2 separate regions of the Homo sapiens genome follow, and region 2 is linked to region 1. The links are contacts of gene promoters, found by promoter capture Hi-C in blood cells and fetal thymus (Javierre and others, 2016). All regions are on one chromosome and are shown on one strand. The core of a region is centred on a gene start or on the middle of the fragment in contact, and the rest is flanking DNA. Distances in the headings are between cores, read along the strand shown. Region 1 holds the start of PTPN14 (protein tyrosine phosphatase non-receptor type 14). Region 2 has its middle 58 kb from the start of KCTD3.

Region 1 (6,547 bases), core at 1,456-3,955:
GCCTCGGTCTCTCAGGCTCATGCAATCCTCCCACCTCAGCCTCTCTAGTAGCTGGGACTACAAGCCTCGAGCTACCATACCTGACTAATTTTTGTATTTTGTGTAGAGTTGGGGTTTCGCCATGTTGCCCAGACTGTCTTCCTGTAAGTAAAATTATCTAAATTTTTAAAATGTGTCCACAGGGTTAGTGCTAAATCTTAGCTTTACTTATCATTGAACACTCAGCCACATTCATTGGAGTCTCAACATTCATTTTCATCTGAAGGCGGTGTGAAAACAGTCCTGTCCCCAGACACTGGCTTTATCCACTGGCTTTATTGCTTAGCTTCCTCCACAGGCATGCCATCTATCTGGAGAAGAGTACTTTGATGGAAGTTTAGTCCTGGGAAAGACCTCAGAGATGAACTATTCCAACCAAGCTCTGCCCTCTTTGCCACACTCTACTTAGAAAATAAATTCAGGCCTAGAGGTGAAGTGCCTTGATCAGGGTCCCAAGGCTGGTCAGAGGCAGAACCGGAACCCTTGTGTCTGCCCAAGAAGGACAACAAGTCCTTTGCTGCTTCTTTTATGCCACAACAGCCTCAGGGTGCTGTGCTCAGTTTGGTAGCACAGTGATGTTAGAGCAACACAATATATTTCCTAGTGTCTTTTCACTAGAAAAGACACCAAGCAAGAGGTCTCCCATCTCCCAGGAAAGAGCAAAGGCCAGAGTTTTACATTGAGATCCTGAAGGCATTTTCTTATCTTTAATCCTAATCCTGTTTGGGTCCAATTTCAAAGAGATGAAGAGCATGCACTTTAGGCCTGACAGACTAGGGCCCTGATCATATCTTCCTAGTTGTATGACCCTCAGTGAGACAGGTAATTTCTTCATGCCTCACTTTCCTCATCTAGGAATGGGGGAGTGCTTTCCACACTTTCTGGAACACAGTCAGGCACTGCCTAATGTTTTCTTTGGAAACCCAGCACGTCTGTACAGCTATTTCCTTTAAAATGTGAGAAAGTTGATTTCCCTTCAACCTTTTCTTTCCATCACTTTTGCATTGCACTCGGCGTTTTCTCTAATTTACAGTTCTAGAGATTGGCAGATGCTCGAAGAAAATCAGAGTCACTACGGATTTATTTATTTTATTTTATTTTATTTTATTTTATTTTTTTGAGAGGAGTCTGGCCGTGTAGCCCAGGCTGGAGTGCAGTGGCGCGATCTCGGCTCACTGCAACCTCCGCCTCCCAAGTTCAAGCAATTAACCTGCCTCAGCCCCAGAGTAGCTGGGACTACAGGCGCACGCCGCCACCCCCGAAACATTTTTTGAATTTTAGTAGAGACGGGGTTTCACCGTGTTGCCCGGGCTGGTGTCGAACTTCTGAGCTCAGCCAATCCCCCAGCTTTGGCTTCCCAAAGTGCTGGGATTACAGGTGTGAGCCACCGCGCTTTTTGGTTTCCAATTCTCTTCCCCAAGAGGCCAGGAATTTTTGCATGAGTTGCCGGACACTGAAGTGATTTGGGACAATACATTGTGTGCCAACGACTTCAAGGTCCCTTTTCAACAAAGGACTGGAATCTTACCGAGATAAATCCCAAGACATGTTTGTAGCAATGCAAAGGACCACAGAAATCTAGACAAATTATTTAATTTTGCAGCTACAGAAACCTAGGATCTCAGGGGCTGGGATACTCCTCAGTTATCCAATCGGGCAGGGCCTAAAACCCAGGTTCAGTCGCCTGGCTCCGAGCTTTTTCCATCATACCAGCTGCGTCTCATTAACTCCACCTCCGAAAGTGCTAAGGAAGTTCCCTCCCAGTGCCTACCCAGGCAGGGTGGGGCGATTCTGTGGCATGGAACAAACCGGGAAAACGACATTTTCCAACTCTCAGCACACAGGCTGCTTTTTATCATTCCTACGGGGCGGGAGGGGGCAGGGAGAGAAGGCTAAGACACCGGGTCCAGTACCCAGAGATTCTAGGGAGAGATCTCTGAGATTGCCTACTTGGTGAGGCCACCTTACTTTCTCCTGGTCTGTTTTCCCCTGTGGGGTGGCTGCATGAAACGTCCTGCTTGGAGGGTTCCCCAATATAAGGTGGACTATTCTGAATGTAGGTCGGGGTGAGCAAGTTCCTGCCGCCGCCCCGTCTCTGCGGTCCTCGGAAGTCTAGGTGGGCTCTTCCTTGCCTTGCCTCTTTCTCCCCAACGGCGGGAGCAGCCCAGGGTTGGGGTGGCTGCGGTCGCCTTGCTCTCTCCACTTCCACGTCTCTTACTCCAGGGAGTTTCATCCGGTCCTCCGTCCTCGGCCCCCACCTTTTAAAACATTTTCCAAAACTACCCCATTAAAAGTGTGCGACTTCTCCGGGCCTGCAGAAGGAGCTCCTGCAGCCCGGCATTCCTCGGATTCCAGCGCTGTGACGTCCCCAAGGACGGCGCGCCTCCAGCTCGGGAGCTCGGGAGCTGGGGCTCCACGTTTCAGCGCGCGCCCGCGGCGCCCCCGGCGCGCGCCCTCCCGGGCCGCATTCCTCCCCGCCCCCGGCCGCGCGCCCAGCGCTCCCTCCGCCTCCCGGCCCCCAGGGCCGCGGAGCCCGGCTCTGGGGTGGGGGAGCCGTGGCCGCCGGCGCCTGCTCCGTCCCCTCCCACTCGCACGGCCCCTTCCTCCCTCCTCTCCCGGCCGCTCGCATTTCCTGCCGCTCTGGCTCTCCCGGCCCCTCAAAGTTCTTTCCAACTTTTTCTCGGCGGAGTGAGCGCAGCGGGCGCAGACTCGGGGGCAGGTTGCTGTGCTTCTCCGGGCTCAGCCGCCTGCTCTCCTGGCTCAGGTCCTCGGGGAGCCCTAGACAGACATCAAGTGGCCACTGGCGCTCCTTCCCCTCCCAGCTGAGCCATCCTCCCCGGCCTCCTCGGGCGGGACAGCCCCGTGCTTAGGTTTTTCTCCTTTTCTCCCCCGGTGCGCCTCTGCTCGGACTCTCGCGCCGGGATCGCGGCGGAAACCTCCCTCCCCTTTCGCCTCCTGCGGCTCCTTCCCTTCGCCCCTCCTCCGCCAGTCACTGGAATCAATTCCGTGGGGAATCGGCTCCGCCGCCGCGAAGGACAGCCTTTCCGCGCGGGACTCCGGGGCGCCACGGGGGCCATGTAAGCAGGTAAGCCCCGTCCAAGCCGGGAGTTGGGCCCGAGGTTGGAGGCCGCCTTGGCGCTCCGGGCGCCCTGCAGATGACTTGGGCAGACGCTGGCAACGCCAACTTGCGATTGGCGCCCCGGGACGCCTGGCAGGGCAGCCTGGGGCGCGGGGTGGCCGGGCCGCAGGGGTGTTATCTCGCGGTGGGAGCTGCCCGCGGTGAGGCGCAAAGCTGGTCCCGGGAGCGAGCTGGAAGGTGAGCGCAGTCTGGGGAGTTTGTGGTTAAACCCACACCCTGGTCCCCTCTCTCCATTCCCTTCTGCGTTTTGGGAACGAGAGAGGGCCTCGGAAGGGCAACTAGAGATACCTAGACCTTGGGGGCTAGAGGATGAAAGACGAACGACGTCGCGGTCGCTGCAGCGGTAGGGGGATGCAGCTGCCCGACGCTCCCAATCACACCCCACCACCACCGGGAAGGAATCTTGAGGGGAGCGGAGTTTTCCTGCCCTCTCACTAGGCCCCAGTGGTGCCACCGAACTCCTGGGCGTCGAGGCTCCTACTTGGGTGGTCGAGCTGGCTCGTAGAAAAAAAGCTGTGGCCAAACAATTTCAGATCAGGTCTTCACCTCAAACTTCCAAAGTTGTAGGTATTAACAGCCTCTCCTTCCCCACGTGACCCCCAGATCTCAGGTTTGAATACTTGTAAATGGGGTTTACACCTTTTCGTTTGGAGAGAGCAGTGAGGTAACGCTGCCCCTATCTCCCTTTCCCTCTCACTTCCTTGGGTTCTTGTTCTCCAACCTTCTCATCCCCACCTACAATTTCAGAAATTGTGGGGTTTCCGCTTAAGTCTAGGGACTGGCTGTCGCAGGTTCTTTGTGAAGGTGAGGAATCTCTAGACTGCAGGTGCGGGCAGTTACAGAGTTTCCACCAATGTGTTAACTTCTTGAAATGGATTAGTTTACTCATTCATCCAACAAACCCAGCTTCTACTCTGCTAGGAACAGGATAGAAAGATGCTAAATGAGATCACAGGGCAGGAGTCTGCAGCCTAGTGGAGGAAACTTGAAGGCCGGTGAAGAATGATAATACATGGAAGAGGGGTTCTGTGAGAGTCTGAGGCGAGCTTGGTCCTGGTGAAGGGTGCACTACACTTAGAGGATAGAGGTTGTGCTCCTCTGGAGGGTGTATTCCAGGCAGAGGAAACAGCTCGTGCAGAGTGAACACAAGAAGGACAGAAAGTTTCCCTAGCCATCTGGGGGCCTGAGGGGCATTTATGGCCATGTTGGTGCAGTGTTGCTGGGATAGCATTCTCTCCACCCCCAATATCAGAAATAAATCTAGAAGCACGTTAGCCACTTATGGGAACCACAAGTAGCTTACCGAGGAGCCAAGGCCTCCCTAATTGGATACACCTCCATGCCTGCTGCTGTTTTACCACAAGCAGCTGTTGTATGATCATCTACATTTTAATTGGCCCATGCTCGGTTTCATTAAAATGGTATTGATTCTTCTTTTTTGTCCCCCACATTCAAGCAATGATTCCTTTTTTAAAAAGGCTGTTTGACAGCCGTAGGTGTGGTAATACCGCAGCATTACGGACCTTGTATTATAAAGTTAGCTAATTGTTTGGTGATGAGGTTGAAGCTTGTGCCATAGAAATGACAGCCTTAATGAGCGGGAGCTGAATGGCATGATGCCCTTTTTGCCCAGTCTGAATGGGTGGCCATGAGGTGCAAAATTCGTTCATCTGTATGTCACTAAGTTTGTTATACTTTTCTCTGCTTTTAAGTCATTACTATTGCTTTAGCACAGTTGTGCTAAAGTCGTTCTTTTCTCTGAAACTTTATGAAAATAGAAAACACTATCTTGCACATTTTTGTAGACTAATGGCCCAGGATTCAGCAAATCCTGCCTAGAAAAGTTTCTTACAATGCAGTAGCATTCTGTACGTGGTTTGCCTTTCAAGGGTGTCTCTTCACTGGACTGAAGTGGTGTTGTAGTATTGTTCATAGTGGCTGAGTCCTGGCTGAGGTGGCAGACATCCAGCTTTTGGTGACCTCAGGCCAGTACATCAGAGTGGGAAGAACACACTGACTTCCTACAACTTTGGGTGTTTATCCAAGCCCCTCTACCAGCATCTTTTCTTATCTCAGGAACAGCCCCTTCACAGAAGTTTTCCTGAAGGTGTAGGGACCTGCATGAGAGAAATGGCTGAAGAGAAGCCCACTCCCACTAATCCCAGACATTTGCCCAGTTTCCATCATTGGCTTAAACATGTAATTATTATTAACACTTGAGTTATTCAGATTTGTGCATACTGTGTCATGCTGGTAGCTGTAATAGAAAGGACAGTTAGGCTTTTAATAGGGAAGCACCATAAGGAATTCAGAGAAAAATCAGAATTTTTAGAATAATTCTTATTTGCCCTGAACGGATGGGCTAAGTGTCAAGAACTATGAGGATTTTTTATTTTCCAGTGCCTTCCTTCCTTATTAGAGGTTTAAATTTGCTCCGGGGAAGCAAACATCAACCCTTTGATTACATATTATAGCCCCCCTGGGTTCCATATTCTTGTCATTTTTGAACAAGGATTTCATCAAATTCTTGCATTTGAGCTTCATTACTTAGTCACCAAATGCTGTGTTTTTAAAAAATTCATTTTAAGCCTGAGAACAGTGCTGTGAGCTTTGTTAGAGATAAGGCATGAGAAAGACAAGATGAAATACTTAATTAGCCAATTAAGGAATGAGGGAAAACAAACACGAAAGCTTTGGTAGGGAGGAGGTTCAAGTTAATGTTAAAATACGCTTTTGGATCTCCCCTTACGGATTTAAATTGATTTAATTTACGCTTCCTCTGTATGCATCCCATGGAGGGCTTATTGAGTGGTCCAAGGGGTATGTGTGGCAAATTCTGTAGCTTTTCCTGGCTGTCAGTGTGCTGGAGCAGGCGGTCCAGGTTTGGGAGTTTGAAATATAGCTAGGTTGGAATTCTAGCGCTGCCATTTTTTAGCTGTGTGATGTTGGATGGACGTCATAGCCCTTCTGAGCCTCAGTTTCTTCATCTGCAAAATGGATCTGGTAACATTTGGCCTCTCAGGATATGTATGGAGAATTCAGTGTCATGCTGTATAACAGTACCTCACACAGAATAGGTCAAGGATGGCTATTTATATGTTCAAGGACTTGTATGTGGCCATGAATGTGCTCTTTGTGTGTGATTTTTTTCAGCAGCCTGAATTCACATGTGTGTCAACATACACATAAAGCTTTGTTTTTGACTTTTTTTTTTTTTTCAGTCTATTGGCTCAAAATAAACATGTTGGCTGGCAGCTGCCATGTGGCTCCTCCTACAAGAGGAAATTGAGAGGTGGGGGACCAGGCAGTAGAGAAGTTTGAGGAGGGAAAGCCACTGAGAGATTAGAAGGGCAGAGAACAAGATCCTTT
Region 2 (6,547 bases), core at 2,978-5,477, 960 kb before region 1:
GTGGCCTATTTTATGGTCTATTCTGGAGAATGTTCTGTGTTGATGAGAAGAATGTATAGTATATAGCTGTTGGATGAAATGTTCTGTAAATATTTGTTAGGTCCATTTGGTCTATAGTACAGATTAAGTGCAATGTTCCTTTGTTAATTTTCTGTATAGATTATCTATCCAATGTGGAAAGTTGGATGTTAAAATTCTCAACCATTATTTTATTGGGGTCTACTTTTATTGGGGTCTACCTCTTTCATTAACTCTAGTAATATTTGCTTTATATATCTGGGTACTTAAGTGCTGGGTGTGTACGTATTTATAGTTGTTATATCCTCTTGCTGAATTGCTTCATTTATTATTATATAATGACCTTCTTCTCTCTTTTATATTTTTTTGACTTAAAGTCTGTTTTGTTTGGTATAAACACACACTCCCGCATGCTTTTGGTTTCTGTTTGCGTGGAATATCTTTTCTATCATTTCACATTTAGTCTATGTGTCTTTCCAGGGGAATTGAGTTTCTTGAAGGCAGTATATATTGTGTCTTGTATTTTTAATCTATTCAGCTAGTATATATATATTTTAATTGCAGAATTTAAACCATTTACACTCAAGGTTATTATTGTAAGTGAAGACTTACTCCTGCCATTTTGTTAATTTTTTTCTGATTGCTTTGTATATCCTTTGCTTCTTTTCTCCTTTTATTGTTCACCTTTATACTTTGGTGGGTTTTTCGGTAGTGATAACTTTGACTTCTTTCTCTCAGTATCTTTTCTACCAGTGACTTTTATGCTTTTGTGTGTTTTTATGATGGCAGATATTATCCTTTTGCTTCCAGGTGTAGAACTCCCCTAAGCAACTCTTGTAGGTCCAGTCTCATGGTAATTAATTCTCTCAGTTTTTGCTTGTCTGGGAAATATTTCATTTCTCTTTCATTTTTGAAGGATAGCTTTGCTGGATATAGTATTCCTGTTATGACTTTTTTTCTTCTTTCTACACTTTGAATATGTCATCTTCTTATCTCCTGGCTTGCAAGGTTTCGGTTGAGAAACCAGTTTTTGTCTGATGAGAATTTTTTTATATGTGACTTGATGCTTTTATATTGTTGTTTTAAAAATTATCTTTGTCTTTGAATTTTGACTATTTGACTATAATGTTCCTTGGAGGAGACCTTTTTGAGTTTAATCTATTTGGGAATCTTTGAGCTTCCTATACCTGGACAGCTATATCTTTTGGGACATTTGAGAAGCATTCAACTATTGTTTTTCAGACAGGTGTTCTATTCCATTTCTCAGATCGTCTCTTTCTGGAAGTCCCCAAATTTGAATATTTGGTTGATTTTTGATGTCCCATATGTCATACAGGCTTTCCTCATTCTTTTTTTATTCTTTTTTCTTGTCTGACTGGGATATTTCAAAATATATTTTTTCAAGTTCAAATTTTCTTTCTTCTGCTTAACCTAGTCTGCTGTTGAAGCTCTCAATTGTATTTACTATTTCATTCATTGAATTATTCAGTTCCAAGATTTTGTTTATTTTTTAAAAATGATATCTATCTTTTCATTAAATTTCTAATTCAGATCATAAATTGTTTTCCTGATTTCTTTGTATTATTCATTTGTGTTCTTCTGTGTCTCATAGCATTTCTTTAATATCATTATTTTGAATTCTGTTTAGGGAAGATTATGGATTTCCTTTTCTTTAGTATCTGTTGCTGCAGAATTATTGTGTTCTTTTGGAAGTGTTATGTTTCTTTGCTTTCTCATATTTCTTGGATTCTTATGTTGGTATCTGTACATCTAGTATAGCAATCATTTCTTTTAATTATATGGATTGGCTCCCTTAAAGGAAGACTTTTTCCTATAGGTCTACCTACAGTGTTGGTTGGGTAGAGTATTTTTGCTTTGATTTCTGGGTGGGCACAGTAGTATAGTCTTCGTATAATTTATTCAGCTGTAGTCAGCATCAGTGGTCTCTGTGAGTTCCTCAGTGGCTTAGGCTGTTGTTGTTAGTGGAGGTCCTTGGGTGATGTATATGTTTACTGGCTGCCTCCACTCTTTTATATCTCTTCTCTAAGTGGGGTATTTATGAAATACTATTTGAACTTTTTTGAAATTTATTTTTTGCTTTATTGTTTGGGTTTTCTCTTCCTTGGGAACTCCAATTATGAGCAGGTTGAATCTTTTTGCTTGTCTTTTTTTTATATATATATTTTAAGTTCTAGGGTACATGTGCAGACGTGCAGTTTTGTTATATAGGTATACACGTGCCATGGTGGTTTGCTGCACTCATCAACCTGTCACCTACATTAGGTATTTCTCCTAATGCTATCCCTTTCCTAGCCCCCCACCCCCTGACAGGCCCCAGTGTGTGATGTTTCCCACCCTGTGTCCATGTGTTCTCCTGTACAACTCCCACTTATGAGTGAGAACATGCAGTGTTTGGTTTTCTGTTCTTGTGATAGTTTGCTGAGAATGATGGTTTCCAGCTTCATCCATGTACCTGCAAGGACATGATCTCATCCTTTTTTATGGCTGCCTAGTATTCCATGGCATGTATGTGCCACATTTTCTTAATCCAGTCTATCATTGTTGGACATTAGTGTTGGTTCCAAGTCTTTGCTATTGTGAATAGTGCTGCAATAAACATGTGTGCATGAGTAATAGGAACATCTGATGCAAGCTCCTAAATTTCTGGAATTTTCTGTGTGATATGTGATAGGAGTATCTTTTGGTCTAATGAGGTGACTTTGGTGAGCTCCTGGATGCGGGCTGGTCACTGGAAAGATCCAGCCATGATTATAAGCTTGGAGCTTTCTGCCTCAAACCCCATTCTCTGGAGACGGGGGAGGCCTGGAAATAAAATTAAGTATCAATCATGCCTATGTGATGAAGCCTTCAATAAATCCCTAAACTCTGAAGTTTAGGGAGCATTCAGGTTGGGAAACACATTCATGGGGTGGAAGAGTGGTGTGTCCTAACTCCATGAAGACACAAGCTCCTGTACTCGGGACCCTTCCAGACCTTGCCTTATGTATCTCTTCATCTGGTTGTTCATCTCTATTCTTTGTTATAGTCTTTGTTAATAAACTGGTAAATAAAAGTAAAGTGTTTCCCTCAGTTATGTGAGCCACTGTAGCAAATTAATCAAACCTGAGGAGAGAGTTATGGGAACTCCAATTTATAGCTGGTCAGTCAGAAGTACAAGTCACAACCTGAGACTTGTGATTGGAAGTAGGGAGCAGCCTTGTGAAACTCAGCCTTACCCTATGTGATCTGATGATACCTCCAGGTAGACAGTGTCAGAATTGAATTGATTGGAAGGCACCCAGCTGGTGTCTGCCAGGGAATTGCTTGGTGTGTTGTGAACCCCCTTCCAATATCTTGTGTCAGGACAGCTATGCTGAGTGGTGAGTGATAGTAGGAAAAACACTTTGGTTATTTTTATATCTCAGAGTCCCTTCCCCTATGTTAAAATTCTTTTTTTCCTTATTTTAATTTGTTTTACTAATTTGGTTGTTACACTTTTCTATTTCTGTTCTTGTAGTATTTACCCTACTAATGTAGTTAACAAGTTCTAAAGTTAATTAATATTTTAACCATCCTTTCAATTAATAAAAAGACCTTAGATCTTTGTACACCAAAATGTACTTCTCTAAATTTGTACTCTCCTTGTCTATAATTTTTGTCTTGCATATTAAACATTTTGGTAACTGTTTTATATAGTCAACTTGTTAAGCTTACATAAGTTTAACACTTCTTTTTCCTTTTCTTTTTCTACTCATATTATTCATGGAATGTTTGACCTTACTTCTAGGATCATTTTCCTTCACTCTTTTATCCTTGAAGATTCTTTTGGAAGCATTTTTTTTTCAGTACTTTTTCTCAGTTTTTATTTACTTACTTTTTGAAAATGTCTTCATTTGAAATGTTATTGGAACACAGTTTCTATGAATATAAATTTCTACGTTGAAAGTTACTTTATCTTAGCATTTGAATATACTATTTTTTATATATATATCCGGCTTTCATTGCTGCCAATGGAAAGTCAGCTGTCAGCTGTCAAGCTATTCATCACTTTTTTTTAGCCACTGGGATGCTGCACAAAGCTTCTCAGAAATAGCATTGCTCAATTCCCAAGGACACCATTCACATAGACCATAAATGACTAGTACCATCTCTGGTAGCGTACAGCTTGCACAAATGTACATGGCAGGCCTCAGAATTTATCTTTTCTTTCTACTACTTTTAAGATTTTCTCTGTCTTTGATTTTCTGCATTTTTAATACAGATAACTTATTTAAAAGTTTCTTTTTATTTACTCTGCTTGAATTCATCCAGGTGCCTAAATCTAAATGCTGAAGCTTTTATTCTGACAATAACCACAGACATTCCTTCTTCATATATTGCCTTTCCCTTATTCTTTTCTTCTGCTCAGAGCACTGATTAGATTTACATTGGCTTTTCTTCCTCTAGGCTTCATTTCCCTCAATCTCTTTTTCATGTATTATTTTATCTCCCTATGCTGCATTTTTTGGTAATATCTTCAGATTTATTTTCCAGTTTATTAATTTTCTCTTTGGCTTTGTTTAGTCTTCTATTTAACATATGCATTGAATTTTGAGTATTTTCAATTACAGTATTATTTATTTATAGAAGTACTCTTTTTGATATTTGCTTGGTTAATTTTAATATCCTTTTAAATTTAATCATATTCAAAATCTTTTTTCTTTCTTTAATTTATCAAATATATTTACTTTATATTCTATATTTGATAATTCTACTATGATATTTGTTTGTCTGACCCTGCATTTTGAATTTCTGCAGATTCTTGCTCATGGTGCCTTGTTTCTCAGGTGTTTAGTGAATTTCCAAATTGTAATCTGTTTGTTCTATCTTTATATATTGGAATTTTAATGATCTAATAACCTGGGAGGATTATCAAACTGAATCTACTACAGAATAGACTTTTGATTTGCAGTTTTTTAGTCCACACTAATAAAATTTGGTACATAAGCGCCAACTAATGGCTTATGATGCTACAGAAAGATTGCCTTTTCTCCCAGTGCACCCGGAGCCAAATTAGAGATCAGTAAATCATCTTCTTTGGAATGCATTTTACCTGAATCTTTCACTGAGTCTGGAATACCTTTGAGCACACCAGCTTTACACAGGGAGTCTTATTTTAATTTCTACCAAGTCAGACCCCTATGTTTGTGTGGTTTTATAGTCTCAAGCCATCAAGAATTAGCAGATACTCTTTTGTGGTTTTATAATCTCAACCACTAAGAATTAGCAGATGTTCTCTGGAAAAATAAACCGCATTCTTCTTATTCCTGTGATAAGGGATAATTTCCTTTTCTTTACCACAGTCCACTGCCCACTGATCAGCACACTTTCCCTGTAAGGTCTTCTTTGAAACTTCTCTTTAAGTGTGTCTCAGAATTAATCAAATATTCCCACCTACTGCCCTTACTATTCTTCTTTTCATCATGTCTTTAAAAATTTGTAACATTTATTTGTTTCCTTGTATTTTCTCAATTGATGATGAAGTCCTTTACAGAGACTGTGCTTTGTTCATCTCTGTGTCCACAGTACCTCATACTGTATCTGTCTTATAACTTGTTGGTGAATAAATGAATGAATTAATGAATGAACACCATCCTTTTCTGCTTCCATGCCTTTGCTCATGCTGTCCATGTGCTTGAAAGGTCCATTTTTAATAATATCTTTCTGGTTTATCATTAACTTAGATGCCGTGTCTTATAACCTTATTTGGCAGCAATCTGTTCTTTATTGTTGTGGTAATCAATTGCTTTCCTTTCATATAGTTCTGTACCTTTATGCCTTATCCTATAGTGACTATATCATTTATCTCTATATTCCTTACAGTGCCTGACATAGAGCTGTACAGAAAATAGGTGTTCAATAAATACTGTCTGATTGAATAGAAAAATACAGTCATCTTAAGGGCTCATCTCAGGCTCAAATTCTGAACTCCATTATATAGACCATTTGTTTGACTTCTGTCTCAAATATCTTTTCGTCCACACCTAAGGGTTTTCAACTTTTTAGAAGCTAAAACTCTTACGATTATGCACAAATAGGAATTGGCTCATGTGATTATGGAGGCTGAGAAGTTCCACAAACTGCCATCTGCAAGCTGGAGAACCAGGAAAACCAGTGGCATAATTCAGTCTGAGTCAGAAGGCCTGAGAGTCAGTGGAATCAATGGCATAAGTCATAGCCCGAGTCTGAAGGTCCAAGAACCATGAATGCCATGTCCAATGACAGATATGGAATTTTCCTTAAACGAAGGAAAATTCACCCTTCCTCTGCCTTTTTGTTTTATTCAGACTGTCAAGAGATTTGATGGTACCCATCACATTGGTGAAGGTGATCTCTTCCAGAAACACTCTCATAGTTGCATCCAGAAATAATGTTTTACCAACTATCTAAGTTTCTCCGTCAAATTGACATGTAAAATAAACCATCACAACAAGTAAACTAGTAATTAAAATAAAATTCAAAAAATAAAAATATAATAATAAAAATGCTA

What was found. The method cuts DNA at HindIII sites, captures the fragments that hold promoters and counts their contacts. A CHiCAGO score of 5 or more calls a contact.
Region 2: a contact is called between a fragment that was not itself captured here and the fragment with the promoter of PTPN14 in region 1, in 1 of 17 cell types (naive CD8 T cells). The highest score is 5.3, in naive CD8 T cells.

Annotation. Positions count from the first base shown.
Region 1 is chr1:214,547,760-214,554,306 of GRCh38, reverse strand. It overlaps PTPN14 (protein tyrosine phosphatase non-receptor type 14), which reads left to right and starts at 2,705. Exons shown (of 19, transcript NM_005401.5): 1 at 2,705-3,124. RefSeq lists enhancers at 1,579-2,399, 2,400-3,220, 3,221-4,042. The HindIII fragment of the contact is 5,292 bases long and covers 1-4,747 here.
Region 2 is chr1:215,506,067-215,512,613 of GRCh38, reverse strand. No RefSeq gene overlaps it. Among named protein-coding and RNA genes, the nearest start is that of KCTD3, 58 kb to the left of the region's middle. The HindIII fragment of the contact is 255 bases long and covers 4,100-4,354 here.